Regions from separate parts of the Homo sapiens genome. Here region 1 is linked to region 2. The links are contacts of gene promoters, found by promoter capture Hi-C in human tissues and cell types (Jung and others, 2019). All regions are on one chromosome and are shown on one strand. Each heading gives the region's core, a stretch centred on a gene start or on the middle of the fragment in contact. The rest is flanking DNA. Distances are from core to core; before and after follow the strand shown. Region 1 overlaps PKNOX2 (PBX/knotted 1 homeobox 2). Region 2 holds the start of PKNOX2 (PBX/knotted 1 homeobox 2).

What was found. Contacts are between HindIII fragments. The study calls those that stand out against the background at their distance.
Region 1: a contact is called between a fragment that was not itself captured here and the fragment with the promoter of PKNOX2 in region 2, in 1 of the 25 tissues and cell types used here (H1 embryonic stem cells).

Annotation. Positions count from the first base shown.
Region 1 is chr11:125,419,480-125,427,094 of GRCh38, forward strand. The region is part of intron 10 of PKNOX2 (PBX/knotted 1 homeobox 2); the gene reads left to right. Among named protein-coding and RNA genes, the nearest start is that of FEZ1, 73 kb to the right of the region's middle. RefSeq lists an enhancer at 7,024-7,525. The HindIII fragment of the contact is 5,849 bases long and covers 721-6,569 here.
Region 2 is chr11:125,162,035-125,168,956 of GRCh38, forward strand. PKNOX2 (PBX/knotted 1 homeobox 2) reads left to right here and starts at 2,717. Exons shown (of 13, transcript NM_001382323.2): 1 at 2,717-2,742. PKNOX2-DT (PKNOX2 divergent transcript) reads right to left here and starts at 2,575. Exons shown (of 3, transcript NR_125759.1): 1 at 2,307-2,575. RefSeq lists a silencer at 2,430-2,579. The HindIII fragment of the contact is 7,397 bases long and covers 1-5,596 here.

The DNA.
Region 1 (7,615 bases), core at 2,395-4,894, 260 kb after region 2:
TAGGGAGACTGGCCCATTTTTGTTCCAGAATATTTTGTCTGCTACCTTTTCCTTTAACTTCCTCATACTGTCTGAAATTCCACTTGCATACGTATTAAGGATTAACTTTTTAATGAAATTCCACTATTAGAGACCCATTTTAAACTATCCAATCCCTGTACAAAGCAATGACTATGAAAGGCTGTGAGGCCATCATTTACTCACAGATTAGTACGAATTAGTTCAAAAGCTTGCTTTACTATTCCCACTCAGCTAAGATCAGCTTCATGGGAAGAATGGGGCCAGGCACAGTGATAATCCCAGCACTTTAGGAGGCCAAGGCGGGAGGATTGCTTGAGCCTGAGAGTTCGAGACCAGCCTGAGCAACATAGCGAGACCTCATCTGTTTAAAAAAAGAAAAAATTAAAAAAAAAAAAAAAAAGGCCGAGTGCAGTGGCTCACACCTGTAATCATGCCAGCACTTTGGGAGGCTGAGGTGAGTGGATAGCCTGAGTCTAAGAATTCGAGACCAGCCTGGGCAACATGGCAAAACCCCGTCTCTACTAAAAATACAAAAAAATAGCCAGGCATGGTGGTGGGCACCTGTAGTCCCAGCTATTTGTGGGCCTGAGGTAGGAGGATCATTTGAGCCCAGGAGGTCAAGGCTGCAGTGAGCCCTGATTGTGCCACTGCACTCCAGCCTGGACAACAGAGTAAGACCCTGTTCCCTCCCCACCACATTTCCCCCAAAAAAGCTGAGTTTTTTATTTAAAAAAAAAAAAATGGGGGCCGGGCACGGTGGCTCACGCCTTTAATCCCAGCACTTTGGGAGGCCGAGGTGGGCAGATCATGAGGTCAGGAGATCGAGACCATCCTGGCTAACACGGTGAAACCCCACTCTACTAAAAATACAAAAAATTAGCCAGGGGTGGTGGCAGGCACCTATAGTCCCAGCTACTTGGGAGGCTGAGGCAGGAGAATGGCATGAACCTGGGAGGTAGAGCTTGCAGTGAGCTGAGATTGCGCCACTGCACTCCAGCCTGGGTGACAGAGCAAGACTCCATCTCAAAAAAAAAAAGAAGAATGCTAGTGCTTGTTGGTGGTAGAAGATGAAGGTTAAAATACTTTCTAACAGCATTTTGAGGAGCCAAGCCAGAATGGGGTGCAGAGAAGTTTCTAACAATTGTTCTCAACCTCTCTAAGCCTCTCTATCTTTTGAGAATCTGATGAAAGCTTATTTAGATCATTGTGAACATAGTTTCAGGGCATTTGACCCTGAAGTCAGGGGTCCCAGAGGCCTGAGATTCAGCATGCTGACTGTAGGGTGACACAGAACCCAGGGGCTTCTGAGAAAAGGAACTGGGGCATCGTGTCAATAGGGCACAAAAAGGAGACGCTGAAGGTTCACTTGCATCAATCATGGAGTCTTCCCCAGCCTAGTTCTGACCCTGAAAGCAGAGAGCAGTCTCTCGCCTGTCCTTCCTGAAGCCCATGGACCCCTCCCGACTTGAACACAGATCTTTAACCAAAGTGGCTTTTAGGACTGGCCAGGAAAACTGCCTGTTTTTAGAATAACTTCTGTCTATGAAAAAAAAACATGATCTAAGTTCCAAATAACATATCTCTTCACGAACACCCAAATTTCAGGTATGAGATGTGATTTCAGCACTAAGGGGGTTGATCATGTAATTGGGGAAATAAATGATAGACATAAGCCAGGAGAGGTCAACCCACGACGTAATCAAGTGCTATTATACAAGCACGGACACTCGAGTGGCTCAAGAGCCAGAAGAGTGTGTCCAGGCACTAGAATCAGGTTGCAAAAGGTTCTTTGACAATCATCTTCAGAGGGGGCAGGCAGGATGGGGAGATGTTTCTTCCAGTGACCCTAACAGGAAGCATGTCATGTGAGGAGCGGCTGAGGGGTCTGGGGATATCTTGCCTGCAGAAAAGAAGACTCGGGCAGCCTGTTCCTTTATGGCAGCATGGTGTAGCGCAAGGAGCAAGGGCTTTGGAGGCAGATAGGCTTGAGTTGGTCCAAGCTCTAATTTTACTTACTGTGTGATCTGGAACAGGTTAATGAACTTCTCTGATATTGCTTTCCTCTTTATAAAATGGAGATAGAAATGCTACCTATGATGAATAGGATTGACAATATGTTAGAAAACACAGTGCCTGAAGGGTGGCCACGTGTTCAGCAGAAACACCTTCCTACCCGTCAGAGCAAAGGGCTATGCACTGAACGATGGTGGCCTTGCAGGCCGGCATGTCACATTTTTTATGTCAGCACACATAGAAAATGATAGTCAAGCCACCAGGCTGCTTACGCCCGGAGACCAGCCGGGGAGCCCTTGCTGCTCCAGACTCTGCAAACCACATCCGGGGCCAAGGACACCGCTGTCTGCACACTTACACCTTCTTGGGGTATGCTGGCTGGAAAGCGCTGGTGTAGAGGGCTCCTGCCCTGTGGGAGAAGCTGGACACAGAGACCCTGAGAGCTCTGTGTAATCTTGAGATGTTGGTTAACAGGGTTTGGTTGGAGAAGCTGGCATTTGGGCTGGGCCTTATGAAGGATGGCTAGGATTTAGGATTGGGTAGGAAGAGAAAAAGGAGGGGTCATTTTGGATGACAATTATCTCTTAGATAATCATCAATGCCCCTATGATTCGTATTGGCCACAGGGAGTGACCCCTCGCTCCAAGTTGTTGTGGTCCTCAAACCCTCTTCACCCCTTATTCTCACTCTTGAAACCTGGGAACACTGTGGCCCCTTACCCCAGCCACGACTGTCTTCATTCTAGACGCTGTTCAGGCATCTGTGCCTGAAGGCCTTTAGTGTACGGCTACCAGGAGGAAGGAGGTCAGGCCAGCTGGGTTCTTGGTTACATTTCTCTCTTTGTCCCAGAGAAATCTTAGACCTCAGACTCCTGCCTGTGGGGTGAGAGTGTTTTCTCCACCCATCCTTCGCTGTAGGGATCTAGAGAGAAGCTGCCCTCCAACTCCCCAGGAGTGATGTTTGACTGTCGGAGGCATCCCCTGGTGTAGCGCTGTCCCAGGGTGTGTGCCCTGCTGGCAATGTGTCCCCAGGGAAGGAAGAATTGGATTGATGCTTCTCCATCCAAGACTGAGCCTTGTCGACAACAGGCAAGTCAGCTGCAGGGTTGCATGGAGGCGCTGAAAAGGGAAGGTGTGCAAGAGACCCCTGGGTTGCACTGAGCCCCAGGACACCCCAGAGGGCTGCAGCTCTAAGAAAGTCCACCTGAAAAATGGCTGCAGGAGATTTACAACCTCACAGCATTCCCCAAGAAGCTTAAGACTCAGGTTAGGATAAAATGTCCCCATCATAGTACATGCAGGAAATAAAACCCATTTGAAAAAATGAGCGTATTTGTATGCTCACAGAAGGGGCTGCTGGGAGGCTCCTGCCATCTGCCAGGAAACAACCTGTGGCTTCTTCAGAGACACAGCCACATGCGTCAAGCTACAGACTTATTTGTTATTTATTTAACAAACACAGAGTACACTAAGCACCGTTCTAAATAGCTTTCGTATATTAACTCATTTACTGATACTGATCAGTTTAGCTACACACACACACACACACATATGTATACACATACATATATACGTATGTATATACACATATATACATATATACTCATTTAATTCTTATAGCAACCTTGAAGCAGGTGGAATTATCTCTCCCATTTTACAGAAGAAGAAACTAAGTAATTTGCCCAAGGTCTCACGCCGGTTAGAGACAAGACAAGGATTCAAACCTGGGCAGTCTGACTCTAGAGTCCGTGTTCTCACGTACTTCTAACAGTACTGCCTCCACGTCTTCTTTAGAGAGGTGACCGGTGTGCCTTAATGGACTCTTAAGTACCCCCTTTTTCTCTTCCACATCCTCCCTGAATATACGTTCAACAATAATTGAAAAAGCAGCATTATTAGTGAGTAGAGCAACCTGCCTCTAGGTGGAGCTCCTGGGAGGTCCGATCACTGATGCTTTCCCCACTCACCTTTAACCTGCAGATGCCCACAGGAAATGGTGAGAAGTACCAGTTACTCCGAAGGCCCCGTGTTCGTTCATTCAACAGATGCATACTGAACACTTACTACATGCCACACATTTTTCCTTGGTGCTAGTGAGGTAGGGTTGAAAAGAAAGACATGGTCCCTTTTCTCAAAACACTTGCAGCCTGCCCCTTGGGGTGACAGGTAGCTACACAGACCCAAAGCCCCTGTAGTAGGAAGAATCCTAGATAGGGCAAGTGCTCAGAGCTCATAGAAGGGGCATCTGAGAGGGCTTCACTTATCAGGGATGGGGATGGGGAGGAGGTTAAGAAGGACCCATCTTGCTGGCATTGTGAAGCATAGATTGACACAGAAACCAGAGGGAAAGAGAATAGTTTTGAGATTGCAGGAAGGTGAAGAATGGGACAGCAGTGTGTCTTCACAGTGGAAAACTACACAGCGATTAAAAGGAACAATTACAGTTAAACAGAGCCAGCATGGATGAATGATTCCATTTACATCAGGTTCAAAAACCTGATGTCAACTAGGTCATCATGTTTAGGATGTAACACAGATAGCAAAACTATAAAGAAAAGCAAGAAAGTGGTTACTGCAAAAGTCAGGAGATCTTTGGAGAGGTGTTTGGGGGGACAGAAGGGGGTTTGTGGGGTGCTGGTAGTATCCTATTTTTTTGACCTGGGGGTGGTTACATGGGTGTTTGCTTTTCTTCGTACTTTTCTGAGTGTTCAGTTTTAAGGGGAGCAGGGATAAAAATGAGAGCAAAAATAAAAGAATGGAAAGCATGAACAAGGGCAATGACTACAGAAAGAGAAGTTTCTCGGGTGACTTATTGTGCTTCTCTTTATTCTAAAAGACTTTTTTTTTCTTCCATTTTAACATCTCTGAAATTGGGTACATCCCACCATCAGTGGCCTCTTAGATGTGATGGAATGTGGTCGTTTTGGGGCCCCCACCATCCTGGCTGCCTTCCTCTGGGTCTCTGGCCCTCCTAGAGTGGAACCACCCCAGAGTGGTGGCTGGCAGCAGCCCATGGCCCCACAGCTGTCAAGAGGGAGAGGAGGGGAAAAGCGTGTAGTGGACTCTGGTGCAGCGCTGCTGATGGCAGGAAACCTAATGGAAGCTCGCTGATCTGAATCAGCCTCCATGCCCCGCTCCACCAGCACCTCAGTGTCTATTGACACTGACAGGCTGCGGCTTCCCATCTGCTGTGTCCCTTGGTGAACTGGCTCACCTCATGGTGAGATCTACATGGCTAGGAGGTGGAAGGACAATTGCCAATGGGCTGTGCATGAAAGAAATATCCAGGACCTGTGAACCAGAACTGGCTTAGCTTCCTTCTGAACCAGCCCCTGGGCAGAACTCACTCTTTCAATTGAAAGATGCTTTTAGTATCAGTTTAGTCCAGAGGAGAGTTGCGTTATGGGGCTATAAAGGGAGGTATCAGAGAGAGATGGGAAAGAGTTGAGGTCAGATTTCAGCGGAACTTCCTGGTGGCAACTACAGTGCCCTGAGACACCTACTTGGTGTAAATACCATAATTCCCTTCTCTAGAGTCCTTGAGTATTCAACTAGATGATGCCGGGAGGCTTCAGTGCATCGCACAGAGTGAGTCAATGGAGCACACAGGCTTACCCTGCACTATCTCATTAAATCATCCCCATGTCCAAGAGTTAGTCACTGTTTTGCTACTTCCATCTAAGGATGGAAGACATAAAACAAACAAAGGTCACTTGCGTGTGTCAAGGTCACACAATGTTAAGGGGTGGGTCAGGACTTGATCCCATCTCTGAAGGTCCTTTACTCCCTGGCAGCACTGCCCAGTCGTGTGAGGCTCCAGCTGTCCCTGAGAAGGCTCTGTCATCTTCTAGTCTGTTCTGTACCTCTTTTTCTTTTTCTTTTTCTTTTCCTTGCTTTTCATGAACTGTATCTACTTCTTTTTCAAGGAAGGATTATCTACTTCCAGAGAGCTACTGTCTGGGCCCTTCTCTTCCAAATCCAGGGAGTTCCCTCCAATAACGATCAGAGAGCAGCCACTGTGCCTTGATGGTTTGCCGTGATCCAATAACGATCAGAGAGCAGCCACTGTGCCTTGATGGTTTGCCGTGATCCAATAATGATCAGAGAGCAGCCACTGTGCCTTGATGGTTTGCGTGATCTCATTTGATTCTTCTTCCCCTCCTTGGCCCCAAGCCTGGCCAGTTGTGCTAAAAGTAGCGCTGACCCAATCATGGTCTGTCCAGAGGCCAGGACTATTTTGACTCTGTCCTCAGGAATCATGTGGTCTGAGGCGTGTACGAGCTGGACTGCTCCCATGACCACTCAGATGTGGTGCCAGGAATGTTCTGGCTGACACACCTGTCCCCAGAGCTGCTAAACGCTGCTACTTACCCCACAGCCCCACAGCGTGCGTCCTGAGATACTGGACGTCCAGGAGGGATAGGTGGTGAGGACTTGCACCAGGCGGTGGTTAGGGGCTTTCTATCCTCATTCATAAGAGAGCAACCAGCCAGTTTTGGGTGGCATTGCTTCTCATAGCTCCCCACTGGACTGGAGCATGTTAATCTGTGTATTTGTGACATTCACTCAGAATGGGGGCCCGACAACAGAAGGCTCCTTAGAGACAGCAAACATTATTCTTCCAAGGAAGGCTGGAGGATTTCCTTCTCTGGAGGCCGTTAATAGTGGAAGAACTTTTCATCCTACTGGCTTAAATATAAGTCCCAGTGCAAGGCTCCTGCCTGGAACATCATCCTCTCCTCTACTAGATTGGCTTTGCCATTCTTCAAAGTCCAACTGAAATCCCCTTCCCTAAGGACTTCCTTCTTTTGTCACCAGAGGGGTACTTAGCACAGACTTCCCATTAATAGAGAGGCTTTTTCCTCCTTTTTTTCTTCCCATCTAGTCTGTGAGTTCTTAACTTCAGATATCTTTCACTTGCCAGCACCCAGGATGCGGCAGATGCCCAACAGTTGTGGGCTGGTGAACCAGCACAGCCAGCACGGCCACTAGCTCTGCTCAAGAAACAAGTCTGCGTCTCCTTATTGTGCTAGTTCATTCCTCAGTTCACTACACAATCCTTCAACGTTGGCCTCTTTGCCTGTCTGCACACTGTGCCTGGTCAGCACGGCCACTAGCTCTGCTCAAGAAACAAGTCTGCGTCTCCTTATTGTGCTAGTTCATTCCTCAGTTCACTACACAATCCTTCAACGTTGGCCTCTTTGCCTGTCTGCACACTGTGCCTGGTCTGCACACTGGAAATAAACAATGTCTAATGAGATGGGGTCCCTGCCTGAGAGAAGCTCATGGCCTAGTGGGGGACACATGTCTTGCCATCTAGTGGGCGAAAAGCAATCATTCAGAGGCCACGGTGACCAGCTTTGCCTCAGGGAGTCGGGAAGGGCCTTGCAGAGGCTGTGATCTGTGGCAGGCCCTCACAGAAGCTCAGAAAGGCACGCGAGGACAGGCAGGAGGAAGCGCGCTCCAGAGGAGGGCCAGCACGTGCGAAGGCATGGAGGCATGAAAGGCCCTTGCACCTGGGAAGGCCAAAAAATCACCATATTTTTGCTGCTTTTTGTCTACAGACCAGCTGGCTATGGACA
Region 2 (6,922 bases), core at 1,467-3,966:
AAAGTGCAGGTAGAGTGAGAAGAGGGCCCAGAACCAAACAGAAACTCCAAAATTTAGGAGTGATAACTAGGATTTGTAGAAACTTCTATTTGGTTATAATGTCAGTGTGTTGATGGCTTATGCAATACAACATGTACATTCCTCTCCATTCTCTTCTTCATCCTCAGAGGGATGATGGGGAAGAAATTGTAGAGTATCTGTAGTGAATTCTTAATTTCTACTCTATCCTTTCTCTACTCATTGACAGAGCCAAAACTGAGATGTGGAACTCATGGAATTTGACATATTGACAACTCATTTCTTCATTAAGTATTTACTAGCTTGTGTCTTCTGTTGATTCCTGTATTATTGCTACTTAATGTTTTACATATTGGCGCTTTGTCTTCTTCAACAAATGAATGCTTCTTGAGGACAGGAGCCATAACCTGAGCCTCTTTGCTTCTGCTCTTTATTCTTAGTGCTAGCACACAGCAGAGCTTCTGGTGGGTGCAGGGAAAATATTTGCCTTCAGTGATTATAAAAACGATGGTTATATTTTGGATAATCATTTTTTAAGCTCTTGCAAATGACAAAAATAGTCAAAGCAAGATATATTTACTTAAAACTACGATGTGCAGTTTAAAGCACCAAAAAGGTATTAGTGAAAATCATAGTATTTGAAGACTCCAAAAATTAATAGCTCATGGCAATGGATCTCCCATATCAGGAAAGTGTTGGGCATTGATCTAGATTTCAGAAAACGAGGGGTGTGACAGGTGTAAATCAGTGATCCAAGGCTGTTGCCTGCGGTCCTATTTATGGCTCACTGACACCTCTCTGATGGGGTGAATTCAGCCTGATTTTCCCCTCTGACTCTGCAGGCTGCAGCAACTCACTGGGAGCCATGGGAAAGAGAGAAACTCCTCCCTCCAGGGGTCCTGGGCAGAGACAAATGGATCTCCCCTCCCCCTCCCTTATCTGAAGAGGGCTTCCCTCTGAGAGTTTATGGCAGCCTGACCTCCAGCCTCTGGGTTGGAGAATCTGGCCGCTTCTGTACCACATAAAAAGGGCAAGTGCATTCATTATTATTATATTATTATACAATGTATAATATATAATAGCGATTATGCTGTCAGCAGCCAGAGACTCTGACTGCAGATCAGAGGCTAGGGTGACATAAATCCACCTAGTGAAGTTTTTGAAGGTTCTATGTGAAGGTGAGAGGATTCTAATCTGTCTATAATGGGGGCTACCACTGAAGAGTTTCTCCCACAAGCAACGTTGGTGGGTGGATTTGAGGGTATTGGGAGGATCTGGACAAACAGTAGTGTGTGTATCTGGGATGTGATATAAGAAGGGTCTCAATTGCCTCCCCTGAGCCAGGCAATGCTAACAGCTCTCATCCTTGCCCATGACGGAGGCGGGTGAGTGGCGACCCAGAGGCCTGAGAAGAGCTCAGGGGCAGCCTTCAACTTCTTGGGTCAGATTCTTTACTGAAAACCCAGAGGCTGGGTTTCACTTTCTGCTTTCCCGCTTTTGTCGGTGTCTTTGTCTGGGCTTCTTCCAGGCCCCCTGCCTGGCCTGGGGTCAGAGGATCAATGGCTGCCTGACTGGCTGAAAGGGCTCCTCTATGGGGAGCAAGAAGCAAACTTCCAGAGGCAGAAGGGGTTCTCTTGTCCCTTTATGCGGAGGGCCATGTGCTAAGTTGAGGAAGCAAGCAAGTGTGCTCCTGTGTGTGGCTCTTAGTAGGACTGTGATCTCTGCTGAGTGAATGGAGGCGCTTGTGGGTCTACACATGCCTGCTTTTGTCTTCCACTGTAGAGGGCATGTAAGGAGCCCATTTCCTCCCTGATGTAGATGAAGCCACCCCAGCAGGCCCAGGCTGAAACAGCCCAGCTGGTCTTTCCCTTTATATGACTGCACCCCAGCCCCCAGAACTCTGGGAACTCACTGAGTTTCTTGAGGACTTTTTATTAGAATGAAAATAGCAGTGGCTTAGAACAGGCTTGCCTGACATTTGCAAAGAAGTGCTTTACTGACAAAGCCTATCCACTCTTTCCTCTCTCCCTCTGCCCCACCTTGAACCAGACACCCCGGGAAGCCCACAGCAGAAAAAGCTCTTGAGACCAGGAATAACTAACCAGAGTGTCATCTGAACACCTTTTCTGGGGCCAGGGTAATGAGAATTATTCAAATGCAATCATAAAAATGAGGCCAGCCAGGCAGGAAAAGGGGGAGGGGGAGTGCTGGTGGAAGGAAGGATTTCTTGCCCGTTTTAAGTTTCATCATTTCTGGGGAGTTCTCTTGGGGTCCACAGAAAATCTCACCTCATCTCGGTCCCCTCAGCACCGGTGATATCTTGGAACTCGGCCCCGGTTGTTCGCTAAGGAGGACTTGGCTTGGGGGCGGGAGGGTGCTCCAGAGTTCCTGGGGGTCCACCGCACTCCCCATCCGAGGCTCCTCGCGAGCGGAGCCGCTTCTCCAGGCCGCCCGCCTCCCTGCCGCAGGAGCAGGCCCGCGCCCGCCGCCCGAGAGCCTCCGGTAGAGGGAGACACTCCAGCGGCTCCTCCGACTTGGCAGCGGCCGGGCCGGGAGTGGGTGGGGGTGATGGGGGGTGGGGAGAAAAGGGGGAGTGGGGAGAGGGGAGGTGTGTGAAGGGGGGGTCCGGGGGGCGGGTCCCTGTGCCGCTGACGTCCCGAGCAGTGCTGGGAAGTATAGGCTGTGTTGTCACGCCGGTGTCAGTCTGATGAAGATTGGCATCAGGTAAGCTGTCATTCATTTCCATGTCAGAGACGCTTTTGCAGGCGGCGGCGGCGGCGCGGCGGCGGCTGCTGCTGCGGGCGGCTGCCTCAGAGCGCGTGTGTTTTATTCCAGTCCCCAAGCCAGAGTATTATTCATTGCGACAGGGCAAGGAGGAGAGAGGGAGAGAGGGAGGCAGCAGGGAGGAGAGAGAGGGAGGCAGCAGGGAGGAGGGAGGCAGGGAGCAGCGAGGGACGGCGGGAGCGTGCAGAGAGAAGCTGGGGAAGCGCCGGGAGAGCGCGGAGCGGAGCAGCGCGAGGGGCGGCGAGGCCGGGCACGGAGGCTGCGAGAGCCCCGCGGGCCGCCCGCTCCCCTGCCCGGCCAGCGCTCAGCCCCGCCGCCGCCGCCGCCGCCGCCTCGCCGCGCTTGGGCCCGTGGCCGGCCGCGCATTGTCCTCGGGTGCAAGGAGCCGGGCTGCGGACTCGAATCGCCGCGGGCCCAACCCCGTAGCGGGCGGGCGGGGAGCTGTGCGCCAGGAGCGCCAGGGGACCCGAGAATAGGAACAGGCACGCCGGCCCGAGCCCGGGTGCAGAAGGCTCCCGGCCGGGCGCTCCGCGGGGAGAGGCTGGGAACCGCGGGCAGGCTCCAGGTTCTCTTTCTCCCGGCTTCGGGCGTCCTTGGGGCCGGCGCTTACTCCGCGCCACCAGCCTGGAGATGCTTTCCAGCGGCTGGAGGCGGGAGCGGTCCCAGGCTGGGGCCAGGTGACCGGAGGAGTCGAGGAGCCGCGGCCGCGGCCTGGGGAGGCAGGGCGAATGAGGGTTTGCAGACGGATCAGTGGAGACAGGGGAACACCGGCGGGGCCCGGGAAGCCAGGATCCGAGGGGCTACACGCACGGACCCTCACCCAGGGAGGAGCGAGAATGTGTAGGGTCACCGGCTTTCCATGATTGCTGGGGATCTTTGGTGAGGCGGGCGTAGGGGCCCGCGCGAGGCTTGGGAATCGGGAGCCCTTCTGGCTCGAGAACTAGGGGATGAGTTCGTAAAAGAGGGAACTGAAAGCGATCGAGAGCGGAGAGCTGAGGGGGATGGCGCAGGATCCCGAATCTGCCGCTCAAAGTTTGCATTTCTTTCGGGTTAGGAGACGGGCTTTCCTGGCTCCCGATCCCCAGGAAGAAACGAGCGAAATGGGCCGTCCTTTCCCGGGGCTCTTCACGGGGGAGCCGGGGGTTTCCGCGCGGTGGGGAGACTCGGGTTGGGAATTGAGGGGTAGGGGCTTGTGGATCGGCCTGAATTAGGGCTGGGTTTTAGGACCAGTCTAGAGTTCGGTTTATAGGATCCAGACTGTTTACGGAATCGGGATCGAGGGGCCGATAAGTAGTTTACACGCCGGCCAGAGCAGAGGGCTGGAGGTCGGAGTTGGGGGCTGGAGGAACGGGTGGCGTTTTTAGGATTCAGTAACAGGATCACAGCTTTTTCTTGTGGTGGAAGCTATTGGAATTTGGGGAGGGTAGCACGAGGGGTCCTGCAGCTCCGCGTGTGAAAAAGCGTTTAGGTAGGCGATGAAAGTAGTTGATCTGAGCCATGGCAGGCGAGCCCCGAATTTTTGCTGCTTCCCCCTGAAAGTGTTTCTTTAGGAGGAGAGGACTTGGGCCACACAGGACCCGGTCCTAAGAGAGCGATTCCGGGAAGCGGACAGATCGAAGAGACCTTCTGGGCGAAGCGGCAGGGCAGCCTCGCGGGGCTGGGAGTGGATCTGAGGTCCCGACCCAGGCGGCTCGGAGTGCTCCAGGAGCCACCTGGGTCTGCGGGCGCAGCGCGGCGGGGCGGGAGCGGTGGCCCGCAGGGGCCGCGGCCTGCGATGAAGGCCGGGGGGCAGCGCTAGCAGCGAGGTGCCACAGTGGGCCGAGGAGTCTGGGCTGTGGCCCAGGGTAGGACCGGCTCAAACTCCAGTGCCCTGATTGGAGCCGCTTCCTGTGCTTACCCGCGCCGGACTGAGAAGCCCACAAACCCGGCCTTTGGTGCGCCCGGGGGAGGAGGAAGCTTGGAGTGCCCTACTGTCATCTCTCCTGTCCGGAGACTTCAGGATATTAGCTTTTCGGGTTTCAAATGCTCTATAACCGGTGGCAGCCAAAAGCTTCGCATTTTAGGCAGTTTAGACGATCCTCCCCGCCCCAAATCTGAGAATGATGGTGTTCAAACATAACACGGTGTATTACCCAAAGCCCCTGCCCTTGCCCTCCTGCTCTCTCTGCCGTTCTGGCCTTCGGAGGCCCCAGGACCTTGGTGGAAGCGGGGAGGGAGGGTCCCGTTTCTGGTCTCATAATCTCCCACTCGGGCTGCATCCCCATAGCTTGGGCCTAGCTGTGGGGTGTGGGGTGGGAAGGGGTCCCGACCAGGGAGGTAGGTTATTCTCTGGGCATCTAGAGAAAGAGTGTGTGTGGGGGGTGGGAGCGGGGGGGAGGAGGGCATTGAGGGGAGGAAGATTTGAGATTTCCTCCTCTTAATATTAAACCCACCATCCCAGCCCCCTGCACCCCTGGCAGGGAGAGCCAGACAGCCCTTACAGGACACGGAAGACGCACGACCCACGACCCACGAGTGGCCTCGGCGGCCCGGGGCGCGGCGACTGCCGCCGCGGAGCTCCAAGGCTGTTGTTTTGTAGGCTTGGAATTCGTGAGAGCTCTCTCCCGCTGAGAGCCCGAGGGGGGAGGGAGCCGTGACCCCACGGAGACTCCCTGGTCACCGCCTCCCCTTTGTGAGCGGGAAAGGCTTGAAAGCCAAGAGAAAGAGAGGCTGCTCAGAATAAGGGGCAGGGGGTTACCGGAGGGAGATGGGCCCGACCACCGCTCACAGTAAAATGCCTCGTGCGAATTGCACTGAAGTATACCCAACTTGAGACTGGCTGTTTTATGATCCTCTCTGGGAGTTTACTGCTCTCTGCTTTTAAGTCTATAGATTGCTTTAAGTTAATGAAAGTGCTGCTTTCAAAAGGGGCTTTTATTGTGTGGCAGTGGCAAATCCAGTACCTCCCCTTTACTCTTCCAAAATGGGCCTGTTTAAAAAGAGGGAGCTTGCTGGATCCCACATGGCAGAGCTTGGGGGAGGGTGCCATGTGACAATGAGAATTAATAAAAGTTAATGTCCAAGTGATTCTGAAAGACGAGTTTGCTTCTTTTCCAGTCCGGTTTCATCTGTTCATTCTCGTGTTGCCTTTGGGCTTTCACTGAGTCTGCCTTTAAATGTTGCTTGGTGCCTCCCCAGCAGCCTCTCCCAGCATTGCTTTAGGTAGGCCTGACCCCTGTTCAGTTAAACCCAAACTGGATTTCAGGATTTCAGCCCAGCTGCCAATTCAAACTGCAACTAAAATATTTACTTGGGACTGGGGGAGGGGCTTTGCCTCGCGTTTAGTAAGATAAATGTGTTTAAATGCCTGGGAACCTTGAGAAGGAACAAGGCAGGCTGTTTTTCAGTGCTTTTTGCTTTTTCAATCTGTTTGGCACAAAAGGTGAGATGACAAGGTTTTTGACTAGGTCCTAACACAGAAACTGCAGTGGGCTCAGGCTGTGGCTTTGACCGCATGTCATAACCATTTAAACTGTGGTTAGTTGTTCAAAGCTCAAAGCTTCTCCAAGCTGGGTTTCATTAACTCTACACCAGTTGCCTGGAAGTTCAGTAGCAATAAATTGTATAAACACATTTGAAGTAAGTTAGTGATGAAATAAGTAGAATTACTGTCTTGTGAGTGGAGAATCCTGAATTCATGGAGTTCTAGCTTAACTGGAAACATACCTCCTCTCCCTTGGCCTTGAAGTTTATGGGTGCACCAGAGTGTGTGTTAAATTTCTTTCTGCCATGTCCATCTTCAACCTGGGCTGTAACTCATTAGAGACCAAGGCATGCCTAGAAAGCAAAACGGCTGGATTTTAAAGGGGTCTCTATTAGCTTGGTTTAGGAATCAAACCAAACCAATTGACCTGACTTCTTTACCTTCCGTGAATCCAACGTGCAACGTAAACAGCAGCAGAGCAGGGGAAAATTAGATGTTTAAATGTTAGAGGCTTAATAATACTGCGTTGTTAGCAATTGAATTTGTTTTTATTAAAGAAACAACCAATAAAATTTATAGGCTTCCAACATGTTGCAAGATTTCCTTGCTATTTATTTAGCTTCCCCCTCCCTACTTTCTGAAATTCTATCTCTAATC